Linked DNA regions of Homo sapiens: all the other regions are linked to region 1. The links are contacts of gene promoters, found by promoter capture Hi-C in blood cells and fetal thymus (Javierre and others, 2016). All regions are on one chromosome and are shown on one strand. Each heading gives the region's core, a stretch centred on a gene start or on the middle of the fragment in contact. The rest is flanking DNA. Distances are from core to core; before and after follow the strand shown. Region 1 holds the start of PADI4 (peptidyl arginine deiminase 4). Region 2 overlaps PADI2 (peptidyl arginine deiminase 2). Region 3 holds the start of LOC105376808 (a long non-coding RNA gene). Region 4 has its middle 33 kb from the start of LINC02783.

Region 1 (3,083 bases), core at 264-2,763:
GGCAGTCATGTAGATGCGTCAGAACGTCGGACCTGGCCACATCATCATCTGCTGGTACAGAAGATAAATTTTGAGCCCAGAGAAGGTGGTCTGAATCCAGATCCCCACTGTAGGGCTTATGAGACCTTGGGGGTCTCACTCAATCTCTCTAAGTCTTTGTGGTCTCATCTACACATGGGCATCCTGATAGGACGCACTCCATAGGGATGTTGAGATGAGGCAGGATTTGAACTAAAGCCTGTTTGATCCCACAGCCTGACTCTGAATTAATGAGGCAAATTCTTTGCTTCAAAGCCAAAGCAAGCAAACAAAAAACAAACGCAAGATATCCAACCCACGAAACGCTCTATGTTCACGCCAGACTCCCATGCATGCACCCTTTGAGTGCTCCTTGTTGGGACCCATCCACCACCCCCCAGTTGCCTCATTAAAGGCAGAGCCTGGCACCAATGGCCCAGGTGCAACCACAGCTCTGAGGCCACATGGGCATCCCCCTGGCAGGCGTGGCCCACACCTGCACTGTCTGGTCTGACACCCAGAGGCCCTGGCAAGAGGCAGGTATCCTGGAGCATGCAGAGAACATCAACTTCCATGCCAGGAAGCTCATCTTCTCTTCCCAGCTCTGCCGCATTCTAGCTCTGGCACCTTGGGCAAGAGCTAGTCACTTTTACTCTCTGAGCCTCAATTTTCCTTCTGTAAAATGGGTTGTAATAATAAGCCCATATACACCTTGTATTGTAGCGAGATGTAGCTGTGATACAGTCTGGAAAGCACGTGTCATATAGACAGGCAGCTAATGAATCTCACACTCTGGAACTGGACACCTTTGGTTCCAATTCTGGCCCTACCACTCTCGAGCTGTGGAAGAACTGCACCTCTGTTTTCTCCTCTGTAAAATGGGTATAATAATGGCACCAACCTCAGAGGGCTGCTGTGAGGGTGAAATAAGGGGATAATGGTATGATCTAGTTCACGGGTTTGTCGTAATGAGCTATTCTATGTGAAGTGCAGGAAAACGTGCCTGGCATAGAGAATGTGAGCTGTCATGTGGGTGGCCCAGGTGGAGAGACTTGTCCCAAGCCTGGTTGGTCTTTGAACGTGTAGCCTGGCCTGTGACTGCTTACCTAAAATCTCCCCGCTTTTCCCACCTTCTCCTCTCTGATATGCCTGTTTGACATAGGTGAGATTGGATAGATCAAGGTGTTCAGGGCCTCTAGGCAGGGATGGGACTGTGGGCATGAGGACCAGGACCCAACCCCTCAGCCCCACTCTCCACCCCAGGCTTTCTGAGCCATCCATCCTTCCCAAGAAACTGACAGAGCCACCCTGCCACTGGTACCAGCATTGACACCCATCTAGAGGTCCGAGGGGCAGCCCCAGGGCAGAGGAGATTTTGAGAGCCCACACCCCTGACCTGAGTGGGGAGGGGTTGAGCCTCTGGGCCACAGACCGCAGGTGCTGACTCATGGCCTCTGCTGGGCGATATAAAGGAACCAGCCCAGGGGCTTCCTACAGCCAGAGGGACGAGCTAGCCCGACGATGGCCCAGGGGACATTGATCCGTGTGACCCCAGAGCAGCCCACCCATGCCGTGTGTGTGCTGGGCACCTTGACTCAGCTTGACATCTGCAGGTAAGAGGGGGGCCTTCTGGGGTTTTGGAGGCAGGTCAGGAGATGCTGGATGACCCAGTTCTACTGACACAGGAGCATGTGTTTGGCCCAGGCTCTAGGCTCCAGCCTCTGCAGCCACTGCCAGGGGAGTAGCTGGAGAGAGAAGACCCCAGCAGCCCTGGGAAGTGCCAGTCTCATGGCTGTGGGTTCTTTGCCATGTACAAGTGCAAATTCCCCAGGAACACACGACAGATAAATTATTATGGGGCAAACCAGGCCATCCATCTCCCTGTCTTCATCGAGGCAACAGAAGCTTACAGAGAGTCTGTGACTTGCTCAAGGTCACACAGCACGTGTGCCCTGGAAGTAAGGTTAGCCCCTGGGCCTCCTGGTTCACAGCACAGTTTGTTACCCCACATCTCTTAGCTAAGCCTCCCTCAGTGGGTGCATAATAGCGTGGGTGGGGATGGCGAAACGGGGCTCTGTGGCGGCAGAGACTGAGGTAGGAAGCCTGGACCTGCTGCTGGCTAGCAAGGAGGCCTTGGGCAACTGAGCCTCAGTTGCCTCATCTGTGAAATGGGGATAATACTCACATCATGGGCTGGTTATAGGAATTCAATGTGAAAAAATGTGCAGATGTTGGCTGAGTACTTAGCACAGTGGTGGGCCCATCCTTGGTAGTTTTTATTTACTCATTTAACAAATGCTGAGTGCCATGCTCTGTGGCAGGGTCTGGGTTAAACAAGAGAGTTGAGGAATGCTCTCGGGGAGTGTGCAGGGTCATTGTTGTTATTGTAGAACAGGAATTAAAAGAAATTTTAAAACGTGTAAGCAAAAACTCAGTTCTATGTTAAAAAAAAAAAAAACAATTTTCCCTGGAAAAAAAAAAAAAAAAGAGCTGGAGTCCCTTAAAAATTAACTGCCTGTTTTTTTGTGGCTAGTGAGCCTTATTGCTCCTCTTTTTCCAGGCATTGTAAAGACCCTGTTTCTCCAGCTGTGCAGCTGCAAGGTCACTAGACAGATAAACTCAAGCTGTAAAAATTTTTTTCCTTAAAAAGTAAAAAATAATATAATGCATGTCTCAATTAAATAACTGTCTTTGTTTCTTGCCTCTATAATATGCTTCCCCCTGCACAGATCTACCCCCGCCCCATGAAATGCTTAAAAGATAACTTAACTCTTTGTTCAGGGCTCAGTCTTTTGAAATGTTAGCCTGACTGAGCCAGTGAATCTAAATAATAAATCCTCCTCAACCCCTCGGTCTCTCTGATTCCTAAATTATCCTGCAACAATTGCTGTTGTCAGGAATAGGAGTGGTTGCCCCTGGCTTCCCCATCCCAGTCTGGGCATCGGTGGCCCTAGAATGGTGCCCACAGGAGTGCCGGGGACATTTCTTTGCTACTGCCTGAGCCCCAGCAGCCAGAGAACAGCAGGAAATGTCGGGATGGTCTCCCAGGGCCACATGGTGGAGGC
Region 2 (3,083 bases), core at 242-2,741, 240 kb before region 1:
ACGATCTCGGTTCACTGCAACCTCCACTTCCTGGGTTCAAGTGATTCTTCTGCCTCAGCCTCCCAAGTAGCTGGGATTATAGGCGCCTGCCACCACGCCAGGCTAATTTTTGTATTTTTGGTAGAGATGGGGTTTCAACATGTTGGGCATGTTGGCCTTGAACTCCTGACCTCAGGTGATCTGCCCACCTCAGTCTCCCAAAGAGTTGGGATTACAGGCATGAGCCACCAGGCCCGGCCAAAGTTTTTATTTATTTTTTTTGTAGAGACAAGTGTCTCACTATGTTGCCCAGGCTGGTCTCAAGCCCCTGGCCTGAAGCAATCCTCCCGCCTTGGCTTCCCAAAGTTCTGAGATTACAGGCATGAGACACTGTGTCTGGCCCCCATTATCCCCTTTTTAGAGATGAGAGACCCAAAGACAGCCTTAGTGAGTTGCCCATGGTCCTACCTCCCCAAGTGAGGGGGCGGCACAATTTGGCACTTCTTTAACCCTGGGACTTTAGCCCAGGAGCAAAGCAAGGAGGCTGGCTGGATGCTGGTGGAGGCTCTTCCCTGTGCTGCTGTGCTCGGGGTCAGGAGCTCCTGAGCCCTTGGCCATTCTCTACGGAAGCCCCAAGGATGTAAGGGCCTGAGCCTCATCCCTCCCAGGGGCCCTCTGGCCCTGCACCCCTGCCCTGCCCTCACCTGGAAGTACAGGTTCTCCTGCACAAGGCTCTCGTTGGACAGAATCTTGTTGATGGTGATTCGCTTGCTGCTCATCCCACCCAAGCCTGTGGGGTTCAAAGGACAGGGGATGGTCAAGCTTTAGATACCCAGGCTGAGTGTTCCCCTTTTGCCAAGATCCTCCAGGCCTGGGCTAACTGCTGGACTGGGACTGGGGAGATGGGACTGGGGAGAGGCTGGATCACAGGAGGGCACTCCCAGGCAAAATCAGGCCCCCCTCTGTCTGGGGAGGGCAGCACACACTCTTTTCTCCAGAGTTGACCATGACATCTGAGCCAGGACAGTGGTGGCAGCTGCCTTGCTCTTGCTTTGGCCAGTGGGATCAGGGGTGCTACAAGTAGCCCCCTGGTTCTCCCACCTACAGCCTACTCCTAAGGATGAGCAGCTGACCAGCATGAATGTGGCAGAAGCAGCATGGCCAAAGGGGACACCCTTCCTGTTTTCCAGAGCTGCCTCATCTTGGCTGCTGCTCTGGAGTGGCCTGCGTTTTCCTCCTGTACCACACGATGGCTTATGTGGCTTCCAGCTTGATTAGTAATGCCTAATGCTCAATGAGCACCTACTATGTGGCCGACGCTCTTCTAAACGCTTTACATTGAATTAACTCATGGATCCTCCCCACATTTCTATGGGGTAGTCACTACCCTGAAAAATGAGGAAACTGAGGCACAGAGAAGTTATGTGACTTGTCTCAGGACTTACATCTAGCAAGCGGCAGAGTTGGTGTGCAGATCAGGCAGTCTGATTCCAGAGCCTATGCTCTTAACCTATTATTTGTTTATTTATTTTGGCCTCATCTGGGAAGAGACTGCTGGTCCATTGCACTTCCCAGGTTTATAACTGGACAGCAGTAAAGATGCCCAGCTACAAGCCGGATGTAATCTTTGAGGCTTAGGGACTCAGAAGGGAGGGTCCAGGTAGAAACAGAAAACTTTAGGGATCTGTGATTTTCTAAAACTGATCCAAGTTCAGGAGATAGATTGATATAAGCATTTTTCTGGAGGGCAAGTCTGTAGTTTTTATCATCTTTTAAAGGGATGTGTTTTCCCCAAACATTGTGGGCTCTGGTCCAGCGGAGATCTTGGCTCTTTGGCATTGCCTGGTTCACCTTCCTCCCCAGGTCTCCTATGTGCTTCTACTCTCTGCTGACTGCACATCCGCGCATCCTCTCTCTGTCTGTCCCAATTACATGAATGTCTAAGTCCAGGAGATAATGTTTCACTCCTGAACTGACAATGACGATGCCTGACCATGCCTTCTGTCCATCAAAGTCCAGTTTTCTTCCTGTCCCCAAACTGTATTCTATCTATTTTCTCTCTATCTCTCTTTCTAAAATACAAAGAGAAATCTGGGGCACTGCTTGCCCCTATTTGTACAAAAATAATGGTCCCTATATCCTATGGGTAGTTTTTGAGGGTATGTTTAATATTAGAGAGGAAGCCTCCAGGAAGTCAGGACTCAAGCTTGCCAATCCAAGAACAAACTTCCCATCAGTGGGGAATTTAAAAAGGGTGGTGGTGTTAAATTGGTCTTGTCTGTCCTAGACACCAGTGACAGTCAGGAACACTGTCTTTGGATCTGAGGGGCAGTCATGTAAGTATCAACCAGCTGCGGGAACTCAGGCTTTCAGGCATGAGATATATTATGGATACCAACCTGAAAAGTGACAAAAGTAATTTAAGAAAAAAATAGGCCGAGCATGGTGGCTCACGCCTGTAATCCCAGCACTTTGGGAGGCCGAGGCGGGTGGTTCATGAGGTCAGGAGATTGAGACCATCCCGGCTAACATGGTGAAACCCCACCTCTACTAAAAATACAAAAAATTAGCCGGGCGTGGTGGCGGGCGCCTGTAATCCCAGCTACTGGGGAGGCTGAGGCAGGAGAATGGCTTGAACCTGGGAGGCGGAGCTTGCAGTGAGCCGAGATGGCACCACTGCACTCCAGCCTGGACGACAGAGTGAGACTGTGTCTCAAAAAAAAAAAAAAAAAGTATAACGGATATAGAGAGTGCTGATGGTTAGTCAGCATTGTAGATGTATTTAATGTCCCGGAACTGTGTCCTTACAAGTGGTTAAAATAACAAATGTGTTAGATTAGGTATATTTTATCACAATAAAAAACATGTTGGACATAAGGATGGCAATGGCAAACACTGGGGACTATTAGAGTGGGGAGGGAGAGAGGAGGGAAAGAGTTGAATGACTAACTGTTGTCTACTATGCTCAGTACCTGCGTGATGGGATCATTCATACCCCAAATCACACAATACACCCAGGTAACAAACCTGCACATGTACCCCCTAAATCTAAAATAGAAGTTGAAAAAGAAAAAAAAGAAGTATGAGGAATTGGCATGGTGTCT
Region 3 (3,083 bases), core at 404-2,903, 170 kb before region 1:
GGTTTTGGCTTCTCTGGCCACTCCTTCACTCTCTAGCCTCGATTATTTTCCTCAGACTATGTCACCAGCTGAAAATATCTTATGTAGGCAAAGAAAAACATGAGGCACCCAGTTACATCTGAATTTCAGGTAAACACCAAATAATTTTTCCAGGTTCAAAATATTGCATGGGACATTCATCGTTTCTTCAAGATGCACATTTGACTGAGCTCTCTGTTGTTTATCTGGCAACCTTACTTATGTCAATGATTGCCTGTTCCACATTCTCCCCAAATACCCCATAAGCCCACGAGGGTTCAGTCTGTCTCTGTCATGTTCATTGCTATGTTCTTGGTGCCCTGTGAAGGACCCAGCTCATGGTAGGTACTCTGTGAATGAATGAATGATTTCAGAACCTGAGAGAGGTCCCTGTTTAGCAGCTGGTGCAGAGGGAGTGCTACAGGGAGGCAGGTTTAGGCTCTTCCCAAGGTCAGGGATGTGACTGAGAAGCCAGCTGCCTCTGGAGGGCATGTGTCCCCCTGGGGCATTTCTGGCTCAGACTGGTCCTCCCTTTTTGGGGGGGTTGTCCTTGGCGATCTATGAAGACATCAGAGTGAGTCTTTACTGAGTTCAACACTGAATTTTCTTCTTGAGGCTGCCTGGGCTCTGACTGGGTTTTACCCCATAGAGGTACAACCTGGACACATTTGTTGAGTTGGTTTTTCCAGTGTCTTACTGTGTGTGGTTGGGACCAGTGCAGACCCTGGCCCGGGAGGCTCTGCGGTGCCTCTGAGCCCTGACACTCTGTCTGCCCCACCGTCCTGAGGTTGAGATGGCCCCACAGCCAAGTGGAGTGCGTCCCTGAGTCCTGTGGAATCCCAGTGCCCACTCAGGGCATGGCTTCTGGAGGTCCAAGAGAGGACACAAAGGTCACACAGGTGGGCTGCAGAAATGTGTCCTCCCTTGGCATCAGGAGGGCGACCTCCTGCCCTCACAGGCTCTCACGGGCTCCAAGCAGGGGCCCCGGGGTCTCCTGTGGGGCTGAGCTGCATGGAGTCACCTTTTGTTGACTGAAATAAAGAAACTGAGGCAAAATTAATATAGAGAGTTTATTTGGGCCAAGGTTGAGGACAGCAGCCCAGGACACACTTCTTTTTTTTTTTTTTTTTAGATGAAGTCTTGCTCTGTCACCCAGGCTGGAGTGCAGTGGCACGATCTCCGCTCACTGCAAGCTCTGCCTCCTGGGTTCATGCCATTCTCCTGCCTCAGCCTCCCGAGTAGCTGGGACTATAGGCACCCACGACCATGCCCGGCTAATTTTTTTTTGTATTTTTAGTAGAGACGGGGTTTCACCGTGTTAGCCAGGATGGTCTCGATCTCCTGACCTCGCGATACACCCGCCTCAGCCTCCCAAAGTGCTGGGATTACAGGTGTGAGCCACTGCACCCGGCCACCCAGGACACACTTCTAAGATGCCTTGGGGAGTGCTCCGTCCAGCCTTCATTACGAGCAGGTTTTTGAAGCAGATACAGTTGTTTGACAGGCATTCTCACTGGGTTGCAGAGATGACATTGAGCTGTGATTGGCTGTGCATTGTTGAATGATAGGGTATGAAGTATGGTGTCCAGATGGCATTTTATGGCTGCCTGGTGTCAGTCAGTCCACATAGCAAGTGGCTTCAAGAAGTCATTATTTAGCTCAAGGCAGGAGAGAGACATGGCTGCTGTCACATTTCAGTGCCTCTCTGGGCCTGATCGTTTAAAGGGGCTCACATTCCTCAGATACAAAATTTCTCTTTTTTCTCACCTTGCTCCCCAGCCAGGGCTTGCGGTGGATGCCTGGCCTGCAGCTGAGGACTGGCAGCAAGGCCTGGATTCCCAGAGGTCCTGTGAGGGGTCAGAGCCTCAACCTCAGCCTTGATGGAGCTGACTGCGTGCACAGATGTGCCGACACTCTCACCCGGCCCAGACACACATGTATGCATGCACACACACACACACACACCCCTTGGGGGCTACCTACACAACACCTGTGCACACACGCCCACACACCTGTGCACCCCCACATGCACACACACACATCCCTACCTACCCACACACCTGTGCACCCCCGCATGCACACACACATATGCACACACCCCTACCTACCCACACAACACCTGTGCACACACACTTACACACCTCTGTACCCCCCACATGTACACACACTCTCACACATACACACATCCCTACCTACCCACACACCTGTGCACACACACACCCATACACCTGAGCACCCCCGCATGCGCACGCGCACACACACACTCCTATCTACCCACACACCTGTGCACTCACCCACACGCCATGCACCCACATGCACACACAGATGCACACGCACACACACACTCCTACACCTACTCATAGAACATCTCTTTGCACAGCCACACACCTGTGCAGCCCCACCCACATGCACATACACACACACAGCCCCCTACACCTACTCACAGAACACCTGTGCACACACTCACACACCCATGCACCTCCTCCATGCACACACAATCTCTTCCTCCATCCTTCCCAACCCCCCGCCCACCCCCACACAATTCCCACACACAGCATGTCCTGCCTCAAGCCTGTTGAGCTCCAGGAAGTATGAGCTCCTGGTGGCCTCCCTGACATACTCTTTGTGGCCTTTCTCCAGCACCTTGTGCTGGTTCTCAATGGCCTTTAGCTCAAAATAGTCTATGTGCCGAAGAGACATATTTTGGGGTGGCTAGCACCCCTCTAGGAGAGCTTGCCTCCCCTATGGCATGAGCGAGGAAATGATCCTTTTCCTCCACCCACCTTAGGCTTTCTGGCTGGGGCCCCATAAGGGAGACTCGAAAAAGACAGATGAACAAGAGAAAAACAAACCGAAGTTCATTAATAAGTGCATTGTGTATACACATGAGAGCACCCAGCGATCAGTAACCAAAGGGGTGGGTGGGACTGGGGTTTAAATATCAACAAAGGAAAAGGGGTTTTGAGTTTCTGGGCTGGGGAGGGCTGTTCTGGGAAGGGGTCAGGAGGAGATGTAGGTAAATAAGAGTTATCTTGTTCTGCAGAGAAAAGCCTCAGGTGACAGCA
Region 4 (3,083 bases), core at 197-2,696, 150 kb before region 1:
ACTTTACAAATGAAGATGTCTCAGTAGGTGGTTGATAGATATGATTAGGGAGGACATACCTAAGGACATGCAGAAATGCCAAAGCTAGGAAACTGTCACGGCTGCCCATGGAAAGTCTGTCTTTCTGCCAGGGCTGGCCAAAAGATAGGGATTTGTTTCCCTATCTTTTGTTTAGCTGTGGCTCCTTTCAGTTGGAAGAAAACTGGCTGGTCTTGGCCAGTGTCCTCCACTGTGGGTTCTTTAGCCCTACCTGTATGCTTAGCCAGGAGACTCTGGGGCTTCACTGCAGATTTGCATTTGGGCAGATAACCTTGAGGTGATCAGCTAGCAGAAACTATGGAGAGAGGTGGAAGTATGGATGGAGCTGGAGGATGAGTAACCCCCACTTCCTGCTCTTCTACAATCCACTATAATAACAAGTGTTGTGGGAATCAGGAGGACCAGAGAGACCTTGGGGTGTATACAGGAGGATCTTTATTGAGTGCACTCAGACCCAGCAGACTTAACATCCAAAAACTGGGCCCAGAACAAAGACAGCACTTGACTTCTATACACACTTCAAAAAGGGGGTGGGCTAGCTAGAAGCAGGCTTACAGCGGCACAAAGGCAAGGACACAGAGGCAGAACAAAGACAGTTAATCAAGTTGTGACAGGTTCATAACTCAGGATTACACATGACCATTGCTATGCAGCCCAGATGTCTGTTATCTAGATTTCCTCTAGTGCCTAGCACAGACTTATCCCATAACCTTCACTATGGCAGCCAGGTGGCTGTATCTCAGGCCTGCTCAGATGGTTTATGACCTTCACTCCACTGCTTAGATAAAAGAGAATACTTCAAGTTACTAGTTACAGAGAACAGGAATCTATAAACTCATACCGTAAGATAAAGGAAAATCTGTTTTTCTCCTCCCTATGTTGAGGGAGTGCTGGGAAAATCTCCAGGGCACATTCCTTTGTGTCCTGGCTTCTTAGATAGTATCAAGACTTTTCCTAGGTCTGGGCTGTGCCTGTTGCTGCCTCTGGGGCAAGTCAGCCTAATACAGGAAAGCTTATTTCTCCTTTTTAAATTTTATTTTTCTTTCTTTCTTTAATTTCCCGCCTCACAAGTAGTGAGGCAGGAGAATAGGGTCTGGAGGCAGGGAACCTAAGGCCAATTCACACTAACTTCCTAGAACTAAATCAAAAGGAAAACCCCAACTTTCCACGCCTAAGTAACAAAAAGACCAGAGGCTACTCCCTTTGCAAACCCACACCTTTTCTGCCTGGCAAATGGCAAATTGAAAGTATCTCTGATTGGTTGCTTTCTTCAACCAATCATATGTTTGCATAGGAGTGTAATTTTTGTAACTTCACTTCAACCTCTGATTGGTTGTTGTCTGCAACCAATCAGACTGATTGCTGGCCAAGTCTTCGTGTGCATAGAAGTGCAACTTTGTAACTTCACTTTAACCTCTGATTGGTTGCTTTCCCCTGCTCAGGCTGCTTCCACACTGGAGTGTACTTTCATTTTCAATAAATCTGTACTTTCGTTGCTTTATTCTTTCCTTGCTTTGTTTGTGCATTTTGTCCAGTTCTTCATTCAAAACACCAAGATCCTAGACACCCTCCACTGGTAACAGTAGGGTTATGAGACCTTTATAAAAACAGTCAACTGAATTTCTTATGGGTACATTGTTGAAACTGTTTATATTTGTCAGGATACTGAATTAGGCCATTCTTGCATTGCTATAAAGAAATACCTAAGACTGGGTAATTTATAAAGAAAAGAGGTTCAATTGGCTTAGAGTTCTGCAGTCTTTATAGGAAGCATAGTGGCGTCTGCTTCTGGGGAGGCCCCAGGAAGCTTTCAATCATGGCAGAAGGCAAAGGGGGAGCAGGTGCATCATGTGGCAAGAGTGGGAGCAAGAGGGAGAGAGAGTTAGGTGTCCCACACATTTAAACAACCAGCTCTTGGCTGGGCATGGTGGCTCACGCCTGTAATCCCAGCACTTTGGGAGGCTGAGGTGGGTGGATCACGAGGTCAAGAGATCGAGGTCATCCTGGCTAACATAGTGAAACCCCGTCTCTACCAAAAATACAAAAATTAGCTGGGTGTGCTGGCACATGTCTGTAGTTCCAGCTACTCGGGAAGCTGAGGCAGGAGAATCACTTGAACCCAGGAGGCAGAGGTTGCAGTGAGCTGAGATTGCACCACTGCACTCCAGCCAGGTGACAGAGCAAGATTCCACCTCAAAAAAACAAAAACAAACAAAAACAAAAAAACCAGCCAGCTCTTGCGAGAAGTCACTATTGTGAGGACAGTACAGGGAGATGATGTTAAACTATTCATGAGAAAACCTCCCCCATGATCCAACCACCTCCCACCAGGTCCCATCTCTGATACTGGGGATTACAATTCAATACAAGATTTGGGCTGTATCAGATACTTTTCAGCAGCTACAAGTTGTAGAAAACCCAGTTCAACTAAAAATGGGAATTTATTGGCCCATGGAACTGAAGTCATGGGTAGGTTGGCCTTCAGGTACAGCATGATCCAGCAGCTCATATATGCTCATTTCCATAGCCTCAGTATTAGGTCTATTCTCAGTCATACTCTCCTTTTGTGTTCCAAAGGTGGCTGCAAGAAGTTTCTGGAACTCTATGTTTTTAGATTCATATGTGGTAGAACAGAAAAATGTACCTCTCTGGTGACTTAAAAAAGTTCATACATGGGATCTTGTTGGCTCCAATTGGCCTGCCTTGGGTCATCTGTCCATTTTCCAATCAATAGCTGTGGCCAGAAGCATGGGATATGCTGATTGGCTTAAATCAATTGGTGCCTCCCTCTGAAGCTGAGAGTAGGTCAATTTCTCCCAAAGCTCCAAGTTGGCAAATTGGGAGTCCTTGTTAAAAAGGGAGACCAGAGTCCCTAGCCATTGTTCTTCCATTTATCATCATGTTCCCATTGTGAGAACACACAACTTTGCTCTTTCTGAGCAATGGGTATGTTTGTACCTATGGATCTCATGACTCTTATATGTGTGTATATGTGTGTGTGAGGGGGTGTGGAGTGAGGTGGGGTGGATTCAAATGATAAATAA

The links. Contacts are between HindIII fragments. The CHiCAGO score rates a contact against its expected background, and 5 or more counts as called.
Region 2: a contact is called between a fragment that was not itself captured here and the fragment with the promoter of PADI4 in region 1, in 6 of 17 cell types (neutrophils, monocytes, endothelial precursors and 3 more). The highest score is 16.0, in neutrophils.
Region 3: a fragment that was not itself captured here is called in contact with the fragment with the promoter of PADI4 in region 1 in 4 of 17 cell types (neutrophils, monocytes, megakaryocytes and 1 more); the score reaches 14.8 in neutrophils.
Region 4: a fragment that was not itself captured here is called in contact with the fragment with the promoter of PADI4 in region 1 in 1 of 17 cell types (monocytes); the score reaches 5.6 in monocytes.

The regions. Positions count from the first base shown.
Region 1 is chr1:17,306,684-17,309,766 of GRCh38, forward strand. It overlaps PADI4 (peptidyl arginine deiminase 4), which reads left to right and starts at 1,514. Exons shown (of 16, transcript NM_012387.3): 1 at 1,514-1,631. The coding sequence starts at 1,540. The HindIII fragment of the contact is 10,543 bases long and covers 1-1,921 here.
Region 2 is chr1:17,070,723-17,073,805 of GRCh38, forward strand. PADI2 (peptidyl arginine deiminase 2) reads right to left here. Exons shown (of 16, transcript NM_007365.3): 14 at 684-769. Among named protein-coding and RNA genes, the nearest start is that of SDHB, 18 kb to the left of the region's middle. The HindIII fragment of the contact is 1,384 bases long and covers 800-2,183 here.
Region 3 is chr1:17,132,636-17,135,718 of GRCh38, forward strand. It overlaps LOC105376808 (a long non-coding RNA gene), which reads left to right and starts at 3,030. Exons shown (of 3, transcript XR_947005.2): 1 at 3,030-3,083. The HindIII fragment of the contact is 4,354 bases long and covers 1-3,083 here.
Region 4 is chr1:17,154,950-17,158,032 of GRCh38, forward strand. No RefSeq gene overlaps it. Among named protein-coding and RNA genes, the nearest start is that of LINC02783, 33 kb to the right of the region's middle. The HindIII fragment of the contact is 795 bases long and covers 1,050-1,844 here.